4 separate regions of the Homo sapiens genome follow, and regions 2, 3 and 4 are each linked to region 1. The links are contacts of gene promoters, found by promoter capture Hi-C in blood cells and fetal thymus (Javierre and others, 2016). All regions are on one chromosome and are shown on one strand. Each heading gives the region's core, a stretch centred on a gene start or on the middle of the fragment in contact. The rest is flanking DNA. Distances are from core to core; before and after follow the strand shown.

Region 1 (2,996 bases), core at 425-2,924:
ATGGCTAGCACGAGGAGGCACCTGGCCTGGCCCACCAATCTCCTCTCCCCAGGGATTTCCCAGCGTCAGTCCTGCAGCCACCGCTGATGCTCTGGCTGCGGAAACCCGGGGTTGCCCGCGGGAGAAGGGGTGGCGGGTCCCAGGCTTCGGGCAGGGGGCGCCAGAGGACGCCCAGGAGCCCGGCCGGCAGCTGGCGAGGCGGGCAGGCAGGCGGCATCTCTCGGCCCGGGCGCCCCTCCCCCCGGCGGGCAACAGACCCGTCGCCTGCTCTGCACGGGCCGCGGCGCGGAGGACTTCCCCCGGCTGTGCCCTCGGACCAAGCTGACTGCGGGAGTGGCCGCCAACTTCACAGCCTACAACCCCCTCCGGATCATGCCGGCCCTGGGGCTGCGGGAGGGTGCGTCTGGTGCCCAGCTCTATGACCAGGGGTGGGAGGATAGGGATGGGGGATGGACAGATAGACTCCGGCCAAAGATGGACACGGGAGTCAGGGATGCGGGTCCAGTCGGGATCTCAGCTGGAGGGGAGGGGGCGCGGAGCAGACACGGGGGACACGGCCCCAATTCCAAGCTGAGGGGAGGGGACTTGCAGCAAGATTGGCGAGGGAAGGCGGGACTCCGGTCAGATAGATATGGGGGAGGGGGCGCTAGGGGCAGAAATAGAGAAGAAGCATGGTCGGGGTACAGGCGCGGGGGAGGGTAGAAACTATGGGCAGACATGGATGGGGACAGGAAAGACTCCGGGCAGTGATGAAGTGGAGGAGAGGAGCAGGGTCCGGCATTCAGACCGTGACGGGAAATAGAGGGGGAGACACAGTTGAGCTGCAGGTTAATGGGGGGGCTCTAATAAAGGTGGGGGGCACACTGCCCGGATCCAGGCCGAGATAGGGAAAGACTCGAGACAGCAAGCACGGTCTGTGTCAGAATTCTGGAGGGGGAGACTTTAGCATAGATGGGTAAGAGGGTCGGTCCAGGCTGGGGGAGGGGGGGGGCCGAGATTAGAGATTCACCAGCGATTAAGGGGGCCTCGGCCCTAGGTTTGGGAGTTCCCCAGAAGATGGGGGTGGGCGAACGCTGAACGAACTCAGTTCGGGCTGGGGGAGAATTCAGCAGAGACGGGTTAGGAGAGCGCCCCGAGTCCGGGCCGGTGCGGAAACTCGGGACCGCGCCGGCAGGGCTCGGTGCGAGGCCAGGTCGGGGTCTGGGGCCGAGCACTCACCTGGGCGCCGTCAGCAGCAGGAGCGGGGGCCGGCGCTGGCGGGGGCGGCCACGGGGCGCAAGTTTGCCATCCCTAAGTCGGGGACCGGGCCGGGCGCAGGGTAGGTAGCTGCAGCCGCGCGGAGGGCCGAGGCTCCCGCTCTCCCGGGCGGCGGGTGCAGAAAAGGCGCCGCGGAGCAGCGCGGGGCGGGCGGGCGGGCGGCGCCGGGCCGGGCGCGGGCTCCTGCCGCCGCCGCCGCCGCCGCCTCCTTGCCGCGCCGCCCCCCGCTCCCCCGCTCCCCCGCCCCGAGCACCGCCCGCGCCGCGCGCCGCCTCCTATTTGCGGGCGGCGGCCGCAGCCCCGGGCTCTGAGAGCCGGTGCCGCATCCTCTTCGGTCTCTGAGCGCCGCCGCCGCTGCCGCCGAACCCGGTTCCTCCGGCCGCTCCGGCCGCTGCCCGCAGCGCGCGCCGGGCCGAGTGACGGCCGAGGCGGGACGCGGCGCCTGCGCGGGCCGGGCCCGGGAGGGGGCGCGCGCCGGGCCGGGCGCGAGGAGCCGCGGGAGAAGGGGCGGGGGCGACGCGCGCCGCCTCCTGTTAAAGGGGGAACAGCGCCAGCCGAGCCGATCGTGCCCCCCACCTCCCCGCCTTGGGCCCCAGGCGCCGGCGCGGGAGAAGCCCTGGGTAAGCCCCCGCCCAGCCCGCTGCTTCTTGGACCGCAGAATGAGGCGATCCGCGACGCCCCTCCAGCTATACCCATGCCGGAGGCTTGTCGCGCCGCCAGGGTGTCCCGGGCCCTGCAGGCTGAAGCATTTGCTCACCTTCCCATGTGCATTGCATATTGCATGTCCCTGTGCATGCAGGTGCCAGTCATGTGCGCTGAACTTTGCATATGCATACAGGTGCCCTAAGTGTGCACTGCCATGTTGCCTGGGTAGGTGCATGCAAGTGCCACACACATGCACGGTGTATTAACATGTGCCCAAGTCCTGAATGCATGTTGCTTGTTCCTGTGCGCAGGGATGTTATATGTATGCAAGCTTACAGGTGCCACATGTGTGCTGAGGACTGTGGGTAACTCATGTAGCAGCCACATATGTATACTGCAATGTGACATGTTTGATGCATACTGTAAACTGCAATGTTGCACGTCCTTAGGCACGGGGATGCTACACGTGTGCAGTGTGTTACATGTTTTCCTGAGTCCCTGTCTATTCCCACAAGTGCCTTTCCCTGTGCCAGGGGCGCCCCCATGTTGCATCTGTTTGTGTAGAAGCAGCAGAGATGTACAGACCCACCCCTTCCCCATCTTGGCACTAAGCCCAGAAACAGTTGGGTGGGGCCTGAGCCCTCATGGTTCAGGCGGTACACAGGGAGATGCCCATGGTTCAGGGCTCTGGTCAGGCAGTTTGTGGCCTGGGCATGTTGCCATCAGTAAGGTAGGCCGACCAGGGACGCACCATTGCAGCCAACACAAGTAGGTTAATCCCATGGCTTTGGTCAGAGGAGAAACCAGCAGGGGGCAGCTTTGCAATAAGGGTGGGATGGTTTCAGCTTTGCGATGAGGGTGGGATGGTTTCAGGACCATACTTTTTGAAGGTTCACTAGCCAGGAAGGGCCAAATTTTCAGTGCAAAGAAGTCCTCATTTCAGCAAATACCAACCCCACCTCTCCACTGATGCCCCTTAAGTTGTGGCACCCTCAAGATGGGGCAAGAAGAGAAAAGCCTACCTCTTCCCAGGGGCAGTACCAGGAAGAGGCATAGAACCGCCCTCTTTTCCCTCCTTCTGTCCCTCCCACCTC
Region 2 (3,116 bases), core at 271-2,770, 260 kb after region 1:
TGACTGGCTATCAAAGGGTAAGGATCCTCATGATGGAACTGTTCTGTATCTTGACTGAGGTGGTGGTCACATGAGTCTGATTAAATTGCATAGAACTAAGCAAACAAGTACATGTAAAGGTGGTGAAATCCTAATAAAGTCAATTGTTAATTTTTTTTCCATGAAACCTGTACAACAAATTTTCTTATTTTAATGTTAATTTTCTGATTGTGATACAGATATGCAAAATGTTATGGGGAAAACTAAAGTATACAGGATCTCTGTTATTTCTTAGAACTGCATATAAATCTAAAATTGCCTTAAAATTAAAAAAAAAAATTTTCAAAGTTGCAAAGCTCTAAATTGTGCACTAAGGAAAAGATTTGGGAGACCATAGTCAATATGACAGAGTTTTCTACTGTCCTGGAATGTAAAAATTGAGCCCATATGAAAGGGCTTGTAACAGGCCTTTGGGGGATTTTTTTTTAACCAATACCCAGCCTTTCTATACCCATAGCCAATATTGTATATAATATATTATGAGTTTATATTTTTTTCTGGGTTGCTAATCAGTAGCTTCCATCAAATTCTCAGAGGGACCCATGATTCCAAAAAAAATAAAGAACCTATTGGCTTTGTGCTCTTGCTTGAAACAATAAGTAATTTGATAAATAAAACAAATGAAGTTGTTTTGCAATAGTAAGCTTATGGGACTTCTGATTCCAAAAGATGATACCAACAGAAAAGTTGAGAATTATAAATTTGGGGATGATAAAGTCATGTGAGTTGTTTAAGGGAAGTTGAGGGTGTTAACCATACTTTTTTGTATTTGTTTTTTTTTGAAACAGGTTCTCACTATGTCACTCAGGCTGGAGTGCAGTAACGCAATCTTGGCTCACTGCAACCTCTGCTTCCCGGGTTCAAGCGATTCTTGTGCCTCAGCCTCTCAAGTAACTGGGATTACAGGCGCATGACACCACACCTGGCTAATTTTTGACAGGCAGGCGGCACCACGCCTGGCTAAGTTTTGTATTTTTAGTAGAGACAAGGTTTCACTGTGTTGGCCAGGCTGGTCTTGAACTTCTGACCTCAGGTTATCTGCCTGCCTCAGCCTCCCAAAGTGCTGGGATTATAGGCGTGAGGCACCACACCCAGCGGCACATTTCTTTTTTTTTTTTTTTTAAGGAGATGGAGTCTTGCTCTGTCACCCAGGCTGGAGACTGGAGTGCAGTGGCATGATCTCGGCTCACTACAACCTCCACCTCCCGGGTTCAAGCGATTCTCCTCTCTCAGCCTCCTGAGTAGCTGAGACTACAGGAGCGCGCCACCACGCCCAACCAGTTTTTAGATTTAGCTAGAGTAAATCTTTAAATCTTTAGTAGAGACAGGGTTTCACCATAGTAGAAACAGGGTTTCACCATGTTGGCCAGGATAGTCTCGATCTCCTGCCCACCTTGGCCTCCCAAAGTGCTGGGATTACAGGTGTGAGCCACCGCGCCCCAGCCGGTACATTTCTTTTAATTCGGTTAATGATTATAGATGCCTGTTGTGTATCAAGCATTGTACTGTACTAAGAATTACAGACACTCAGCAATGGAAGGAGTCCAGAGATTGTTAACAACAGGCAAAGGAGGAGTGCTGTGTTTAGAAGTGTAGAACCAAGTATAGTGGGAGTCTAGAGGAGGGTATGAAATGAACCCTGACCTTTTAGAGCAGTTCTGAGAATCTTGCTCTCCTAGAAATACTCGCTCTGGATACTTAGAAAATCTTGACCATTGTCTTGTTCCTTATGCAGGCCATATCAAACGTTCAGTTGGCCGGGCGCGGTGGCTCACGCTTGTAATCCCAACACTTTGGGAGGCCGAGGCAGGTGGATCACAAGGTCAGGAGATCGAGACCATCCTAGCTAACACGGTGAAACCCCGTCTCTACTAAAAATACAAAAATTAGCCAGGTGTGGTGGCATGCGCCTATAGTCACCAGCTACTCGGGAGGCTGAGACAGGAGAATTGCTTGAACCCGGGAGGCGGAGGTTGCAGTGAGCCAAAATTGCGCCACTGCACTCCAGTGTGGGTGACAGAGCAAGACCCTGTCTCAAAAAAAAAAAAAGTTCAGTTAATGATATATTTGTATTGATTTTTTAGTTAAGCCAGACCAGTTGATAAAGTTGGTATATAATTTTCCCAGACTTCTCTAATATTAACTTTTTTTGTGTGAGTTACATCTCTTTTTCGCCCTCTCTCTTTTTTTCTTACTATTTTTCTTATTAACATTCTCTTTTAAAGTCATACACCAAGCATGTAGGAGAGCTGGGAATCAAACCCACTTTGTCTAGCTTCAAAACCCTTGTCTTTCCTCCAAGATATATTAAGCAACGTGGAAGCTTATAGTCTGGTTGGGATAAAATCTACAAAAAAAACAAAAGTGGGGGGTGGGAAAGGTTAAGTTATAGTAAAAGATGAAGGAAATTTTGAAAGGTTAACTGAATTTACTTTCTTTGGTATAAGAAGTGACTTGGGTTTAAGTATCTGCTATGTCACTAATTAGTTTTGAGATCTTGGACAAGTTATATAGCTTTTCTGAGCCCGGGTTTCTTCATCTGTCAAATGAAGATAATACTGGTTACAAAGACAAAGTGAAATAATAAATACAAAATTCCTGACGCATAGAAGGCATTGGATAAGATATGATTATTCTGAGTGGCTGGGAAACAAATGGGTCACCTCTTGTGTTGTTTACACCTCAGCTTTGTTTTCTTTGGCCCTTGGGATATCCAAGGTCTCCAGAGACCCAAGCAAAGATTACTTAAAGGAGTCAGTTCCAAAAGGGTTGTCTAGAAAGTACTTTTGCCTGAGGTTAAACCATTTTTAGGAAGCTCCTCCTTGATTTTTTGTCTTCCCATTTCAGTCTACTCTAGCTCTCCGGGGAAAGCAAGGACAAGGAGAGACATACAGAGTTGAAAAAGAAAAAAGAAAGACCAGACCATCAGACAACTGAACATCTGAGACACCCATAAAGCCCTTTTATTACCTTTAGGCCACATGCCAGTGTCTGAGGGTATAAATTGTACTTAAAATTTTATAAAAGTCAGCTCTTCCTTGCTTAAATAAAGTGTGCCCCCCACAAACACACACTCA
Region 3 (3,102 bases), core at 85-2,584, 300 kb after region 1:
CTTAGATATGCCACTCTCTCCCCTTCCTCCTTCCCCACGATGCACCCCCTGCTCTTTAGAAATTTTCTAAAGTTCCCGGGCCAGCTAGATGACCTGGCCTGCCATGGGGTAGCCCAGGAAGGAGTTGGGCCTGGTGGCTTATGAGCAGAGTTGAGAGTCTCTTTTGCTTGAGATACAGAAATTCAGGTCCCTAAACTAGATCTGGCCCTCATCCTTACCCACCTCACCTCTTTCCTGGTGACCTTACATCTGGCTAGCTGCTAAATTCTAGGTTGTGGCAGCATGCCCCACCCCCTCTCCTTGGGATGGGTCTAAGAAGGCCCATAGAGGAGGCACTGGGATCCATTCCCTACCCTACCATTGAGAATCGCTGCAGTTGTATCCAGGATTCCACATCTTATGCCCAGCTTAATTTCTCTGTTGTACTTGGAGTTGAGATTCCTTTGTATCAGGCTCTCTCTGGTGGTTAAGATGTGCATTACAGAAAAATAAGATAAATGAGAGACTGAATTTCAGGCCACCCTGAGAGGTGGGGATAGTTTACACTAAGGAAAAGAATCTGTGTCTCCAACTCCTAATAACATCTGCTCCATTTGTCACAGGATATCTCTCCCATGTGTTTGCTTCTCTCCATTAATCCTCACAACATAGTAATTTTCCTAATTGTACAGATGAAACAGGCTTAGAGAGTTGAAATCAAGTCCAAATTCTTTACTGTGTGTAACATTCAGGATCATCAAGTGATCTGAATTGAACCTATTTTTCCAACCTCATCTTCAGTTATTCTCAAGCCAAACTAGACTCACCCTTCTGGAACATAGCCTACTTTACAGTTCTCTCTATCTTAATTACCTTAAATACATTACCTGCCAAAATCTTATCTCTTTTTAAACTAAAGAAATGTGACATTTTCTGGGTTTTCTATAGTTTACATATATTTGTAATATAAGATGTGGGAAGACAAATGTCTGGATAAGAATGGGGGTAGGGGGATTGCCTGACAGGTGGGAGGTTGTGTGGGGAGACTAATGTATACATGGAGTGAGAATGGCCCAGGAAACTGGAAGAACATGAAGACACCTGGATTCTCTGGTATTGAAAATCAGATGTAAGTATTCTTGCTGGCAAGAGAAGGTGAAAGCAAATCCCTGGTGGGCTGGGACCGGGCTGCAGGTGACATTTTTTTCAAAGCCTTCAATCTTAAATTCACATTAGTTTGTTTTGTTTGTTTGAGATGGAGTTTTGCTCTTGTTGCCCAGGCTGGAGTGCAATGGGACGATCTCGGCTCACCACAGCCTCTGCCTCCCGGGTTCAAGCGATTCTCCTGCCTCAGCCTCCTGAGTAGCTGGGATTACAGGCATGTGCCAACATGCCCGGCTAATTTTGTATTTTTGGTAGAGACGGGGTTTCTCCATGTTGGTCAGGCTGTTCTCAAACTCCCGACCTCAGGTGATCCGCCCGCCTCAGCCTCCCAAAGTGCTGGGATTACAGGTGTGAACCACCGCGCCTGGCTTGTTTTTGTTTTTGACACAGGGTCTCGCTCTGTTTCCCAGGCTGGAGTGCAGTGGCACAATCTCAGCTCACTGTAACCTCCACTTCCCGGGTTCAAGTGATTCTCATGCCTCAGCCTCCTGAGTAGCTGGGATTACAGGTGCACAACACCACACCTGCCTAATTTTTGTGTTTTTAGTAGAGGTGGGATTTTGCCATGTTGGCCAGGCTGGTCTTGAAGTCCTGGCCTCAGGTGATCTGCCCATCTTGGCCTCCCAAAGTGCTGGGATTACAGGCGTGAGCCATCATGCCCAGCCCACATTAGTTTACTTTGTACTTTACAGTATATCCATGTTTTAATAAAAATAGCTAATGCTTCAATAGCACTGAATGTATGTCAGGTTCTAGTCTAAATACTTTACATAGATTCTCAAACCCATAAGGCTTGAGGAAACTGAGACCCAAAAAGGTTAAGTAACTTGCTAATGTCATACAGCCAGTAGGTGATGGGGCTAGGAAGTCTGGCTCCAGAGAACGTGTTCTTAATGACTGCGATTTGATGTTGAAAATTCTGCCTTACAGGCCGGGCGCGGTGGCTCACGCCTGTAATCTCAGCACTTTGGGAGGCCGAGGTGGGCAGATTACAAGGTGAGGAGATCGAGACCATCCTGGCTAACGTGGTGAAACCCCGTCTCTACTAAAAAATACAAAAAATTAGCCAGGCCCGGTGGCAGGCACCTGTAGTCCCAGCTACTCGGGAGGCTGAGGCAGGAGAATGGCGTGAACCCAGGAGGCGGAGCTTGCAATGAGGCGAGATTGCGCCACTGCACTCCAGCCTGGGCGACAGAGCGAGACTCCATCTCAAAAAAAAAAAAAGAAAAAGAAAATTCTGCCTTATATTTCCATTGAATAAAACTGACATTCCAGAAAGCTGCATTGTGTTTTATCCTGTGGATTCATCACTTCTGTGTACCACCAGAGGTCTGCATAGTCTGGTCTGAAAACTGCTGATTTAAGGCCAGGCGCAGTGGCTCATGCCTGTAATCCCAGCACTTTGGAAGGTCGAGGCGGGCGGATCACCTGAGGTTCAGGAATTCGAGACCAGCCTGGCCAACATGGCGAAACCCCAACTCTACTAAAAATATGGAAATTAGGCATGGTGGTGGGCGCCTGTAATTCCAGCTACTCAGGAGACTGAGACAGGAGAATCGCCTGAACCCGGAAGGCAGAGGTTGCAGTGAGCCGAGATCGTGCCATTGCACTCCAGCCTGGGCAACAAGAGCAAAAGTCCATCTCAAAAAAAAAAAAAAATGCTGATTTATAGGACAGATTTGGGCCAGGTGTGGTGGCTCCATTTTGTAAACCCAGTGATTTGGGAAGCCCAGGCAGGAGGATCATTTGGGCCCAGGAGTTGAAGACCAGCCTGGGTAACATAGTGAGACCCTGTCTCTACAAAAAAAAAAAAAAAAAAAAAAAAAATTTTTTTTCTTTTGAGATGGAGTCTTGCACTGTCGCCCAGGCTGGATGGAGTGCAATGGTGCAATCTTAGCTCGCTGAAACCTCCACCTCCCAGCTTCAGGCAATTCTCCTGCCTCAGCCTCCCAAGCAGCT
Region 4 (3,134 bases), core at 7-2,506, 420 kb after region 1:
CACAACAGTTTACAATCTTCTCTACCCACAGCCTGATGCGAGGCTCTGGGACTAGACTATTTAGCCAACAGTTCTTGCAAAATTAACTGACTTATAAGTAAATAGTAATTTCAACACCTCACTGCTAATGCTGTAACAACTCTGCAGACCTAGGGAGCAAGTACGGTTTGCAGAGCACTGGGAAGGCTCTGAAGTGACCTTTGAACTGGGCCTCAAAAAATTTTGGGTTTGGCAAAAGTCAAATCTCTTAGGCTTCAAATTCCAGGCACAAGGATTGTTGGGTTTGATTTCATTATCCAGAAGCAATGGGGATACAGAATTGTGATCTCATGTGTAGGGAACTGTGGGGGTTTTTTCTACTTTAACCCCAGTGAGACTTTGTAGAGTGTGGGGTAGAGAAAAGGCTCATGAATATGCCTGAAGCCTAACTCAGCACCTTTCTGAGGAACTGACTGCCAAAATGGTAATGGAGAGGGGAAAATATGACCTACTTTCACAAGTTACCTTGACTGCCTCAGGGAAACCTGCTGTGGTAGTGTTTCTTCTGGGTGAAAGACCAGGTAATTACCTGGGTGCTGGTCTCAGACTTACCAGTTTTGAATCCCTGTTTTAACCACTCACTATCGATATGACCTTGGATAAGTTACCTAACCTTTCTCTTACTGTCCTTTTCCGTAAAATGGGGATAACAGATAGTAGTTATTTCTATGAGTGGTTATGAGAACCAAGCTATTAGATAGCGGGAAAGCACACAGTAAGCGTTCAAGGAACTGCTATTGTTATTAAAAGCCTCCTTTGGAAGAAGGACATTGAGGCCCAGAGAGAGAACAGAACGTCCAGCCACACAGCAAATCCGTGATGAAGTTGGGACTGGAGTATGGGTCTCCTGAGTCTCAGCCCAGGACTCTATCCCTCTTCCCGAGTCCTCGGAGTTCCCGGATGGAGTCACATTTGTTCACGGCCAGGGAGGAAGGTTTGATGGAGGCCTGCAGGAAACAACAGCCAGGCGCAAGGCTTTGGGAGTTGAAGCATAGCTTCTGCGAGATAGAAACAAGGTTGACATGGGCACTCGTGCAGAATGACGGGCTCCTTTTGGACTCCCAGGACTACAGTCCCTTATGCACCTTGGGATCTGCGGCTAGCCCCTGCGTAAAGAGGGACGCGTAGTCTTTTCCCTGCCCCGCCCTGCCGGGGCGCCCGCCTCCGAGGCCGCCCTCGCTTCGTCCTTCCCAGCAAGCTCCGCGCCGGCGCCGGCTATTGATTGGCTGAGGCGGGAGCAGGCGGCTGGCCGGCAGCAGTTACTCGGGGTTTCCGGTGCGAGGCCAGAGGTGGGGAAGCCATCGGACGTCGGCGGTGAGGTACGTGCAGCGGCGGCCGGTGGGCGAGACTATTTGAGAGTGTGCGGGCCGGGATGTTCTCGGCCTGTGGGGAAATCACGCCAACTCCCCGCGTGGGCCGGGGGCTGTCTGGGGATATGCGCATGCGCGGGCGTGCCTCGCGGCTTGAGGGCGCGCGGGGCGTGGGTGGCTGCGCGCGCGGGGGGCGCACGTGGGGCCTGAGGGGCGGGGGCGGTGCCGGGAGTCCCGCCACGTCAGTCTCCGGCCCTGAGCCAATCCCGCGCCCGGCCTGCCGCGAGGGGGCCGGTTGTGCCGGGAAGTGGCTCCAGGGAGAAGAGGCCTCTTCCCTCACCCGCTGTGGGAGCTGCGCCCCGAAAGCCTGCCCCGGCACGTCGGGCTCTCCTGACCCGCCAAGACCAGAGAGCCGTTGGCGCCCTCCGCCCGGGCCTGCCGGTCCGTTTATTTTAAGAAGCTTTGTGCGCCTGCTGTGGGGATTTCTGATCCAGGCTGCGAAGAATTTCGAAGTCTGGAAAATAGCAACTGTGTTTGTTTCTAAAGGATCTTCTCCTGACCCAGCATCGCTCATCACAATGAAGAACCAAGACAAAAAGAACGGGGCTGCCAAACAATCCAATCCAAAAAGCAGCCCAGGACAACCGGAAGCAGGACCCGAGGGAGCCCAGGAGCGGCCCAGCCAGGCGGCTCCTGCAGTAGAAGCAGAAGGTCCCGGCAGCAGCCAGGCTCCTCGGAAGCCGGAGGGTGTGTGCCAGCTCTGCGTTGCCAGCGGGCAGGGGGAGGAGCTGTGGGGTCGGCCTCGCTTCTGGACTTACAGGCCGAGGCCAGGTTGTCCGGGAGGAGGAGATGTAGAATGAGAGGACAGTGCTGGGGGCCGCGGTCCCCCCTGCGCTCTGGCGAGTTGGCGGAGCTGCCCCCTCTAAGCACAGGAACAGAGTTCTGGAGAGAAGCTCCGACGGGATTAAGTCAGGTGGCAGCCAAACGAGGCACCCAGTCAGGAAATCCAGGTCCCGTTAGAAACACCTCAGCCACCAGCAGCTAACTGCCCTTCCTGTTTGAGGCATTTCTAGAATGATCTGAATGGCAAGAAATGGTTTTGTGGGGGGGAAGGAGATGGACTAGAAGTTGCTCCGTGCCATCCCTGTGTGCTGATGCTTTACATACTTTTATGATCTAACAAATATGTTCGGGTGGTAGTGAGAAATAGTTGTGTCATTTTACAAGTAAACAGACTTAAAGAAGTTAGGCAACGATTACTATAATTTCTTGATTTAAAAGATGTTTCGAATCTAAATTCTGACAGGAACTAGATTTGCTGAATGATACTCCATTCTTGCTTCTCAGTTTCCATAAAAAAAAAAGTTAGGCAACATTTAACTCAAACTGATGAGTTTGGCTGGGCCTGAAAAATCCCAACCAGTGGTATAATCGTCTTCTTTCTCACTCTACCCCTCATCCTCTCCTGCTGTAGGGGCTCAAGCCAGAACGGCTCAGTCTGGGGCCCTTCGTGATGTCTCTGAGGAGCTGAGCCGCCAACTGGAAGACATACTGAGCACATACTGTGTGGACAATAACCAGGGGGGCCCCGGCGAGGATGGGGCACAGGGTGAGCCGGCTGAACCCGAAGATGCAGAGAAGTCCCGGACCTATGTGGCAAGGAATGGGGAGCCTGAACCAACTCCAGTAGTCAATGGAGAGAAGGAACCCTCCAAGGGGGATCCAAACACAGAAGAGATCCGGCAGAGTGACGAGGTCGGAGACCGAGACCATCGAAGGCCACAG

The links. The method cuts DNA at HindIII sites, captures the fragments that hold promoters and counts their contacts. A CHiCAGO score of 5 or more calls a contact.
Region 2: a contact is called between a fragment that was not itself captured here and the fragment with the promoter of ADGRB2 in region 1, in 1 of 17 cell types (fetal thymus). The highest score is 6.5, in fetal thymus.
Region 3: a contact is called between a fragment that was not itself captured here and the fragment with the promoter of ADGRB2 in region 1, in 1 of 17 cell types (fetal thymus). The highest score is 5.0, in fetal thymus.
Region 4: the fragment with the promoter of TXLNA here is called in contact with the fragment with the promoter of ADGRB2 in region 1 in 7 of 17 cell types (fetal thymus, megakaryocytes, non-activated CD4 T cells and 4 more); the score reaches 11.5 in fetal thymus.

The regions. Positions count from the first base shown.
Region 1 is chr1:31,762,666-31,765,661 of GRCh38, forward strand. It overlaps ADGRB2 (adhesion G protein-coupled receptor B2), which reads right to left and starts at 1,675. Exons shown (of 33, transcript NM_001364857.2): 1 at 1,219-1,675. RefSeq lists an enhancer at 1-146 and a silencer at 88-357. The HindIII fragment of the contact is 4,434 bases long and covers 1-2,231 here.
Region 2 is chr1:32,020,815-32,023,930 of GRCh38, forward strand. All of the region lies in intron 1 of KHDRBS1 (KH RNA binding domain containing, signal transduction associated 1), which reads left to right. Among named protein-coding and RNA genes, the nearest start is that of KHDRBS1, 8.5 kb to the left of the region's middle. The HindIII fragment of the contact is 1,679 bases long and covers 682-2,360 here.
Region 3 is chr1:32,063,124-32,066,225 of GRCh38, forward strand. No RefSeq gene overlaps it. Among named protein-coding and RNA genes, the nearest start is that of TMEM39B, 8.3 kb to the right of the region's middle. RefSeq lists a silencer at 285-579. The HindIII fragment of the contact is 5,220 bases long and covers 1-3,102 here.
Region 4 is chr1:32,178,419-32,181,552 of GRCh38, forward strand. TXLNA (taxilin alpha) reads left to right here and starts at 1,257. Exons shown (of 11, transcript NM_175852.4): 1 at 1,257-1,358; 2 at 1,896-2,096; 3 at 2,824-3,134. The coding sequence starts at 1,928. RefSeq lists enhancers at 435-1,194, 1,195-1,953, 1,841-1,920, 2,041-2,200, 2,211-2,260 and silencers at 1,131-1,320, 1,461-1,640. The HindIII fragment of the contact is 3,390 bases long and covers 1-1,807 here.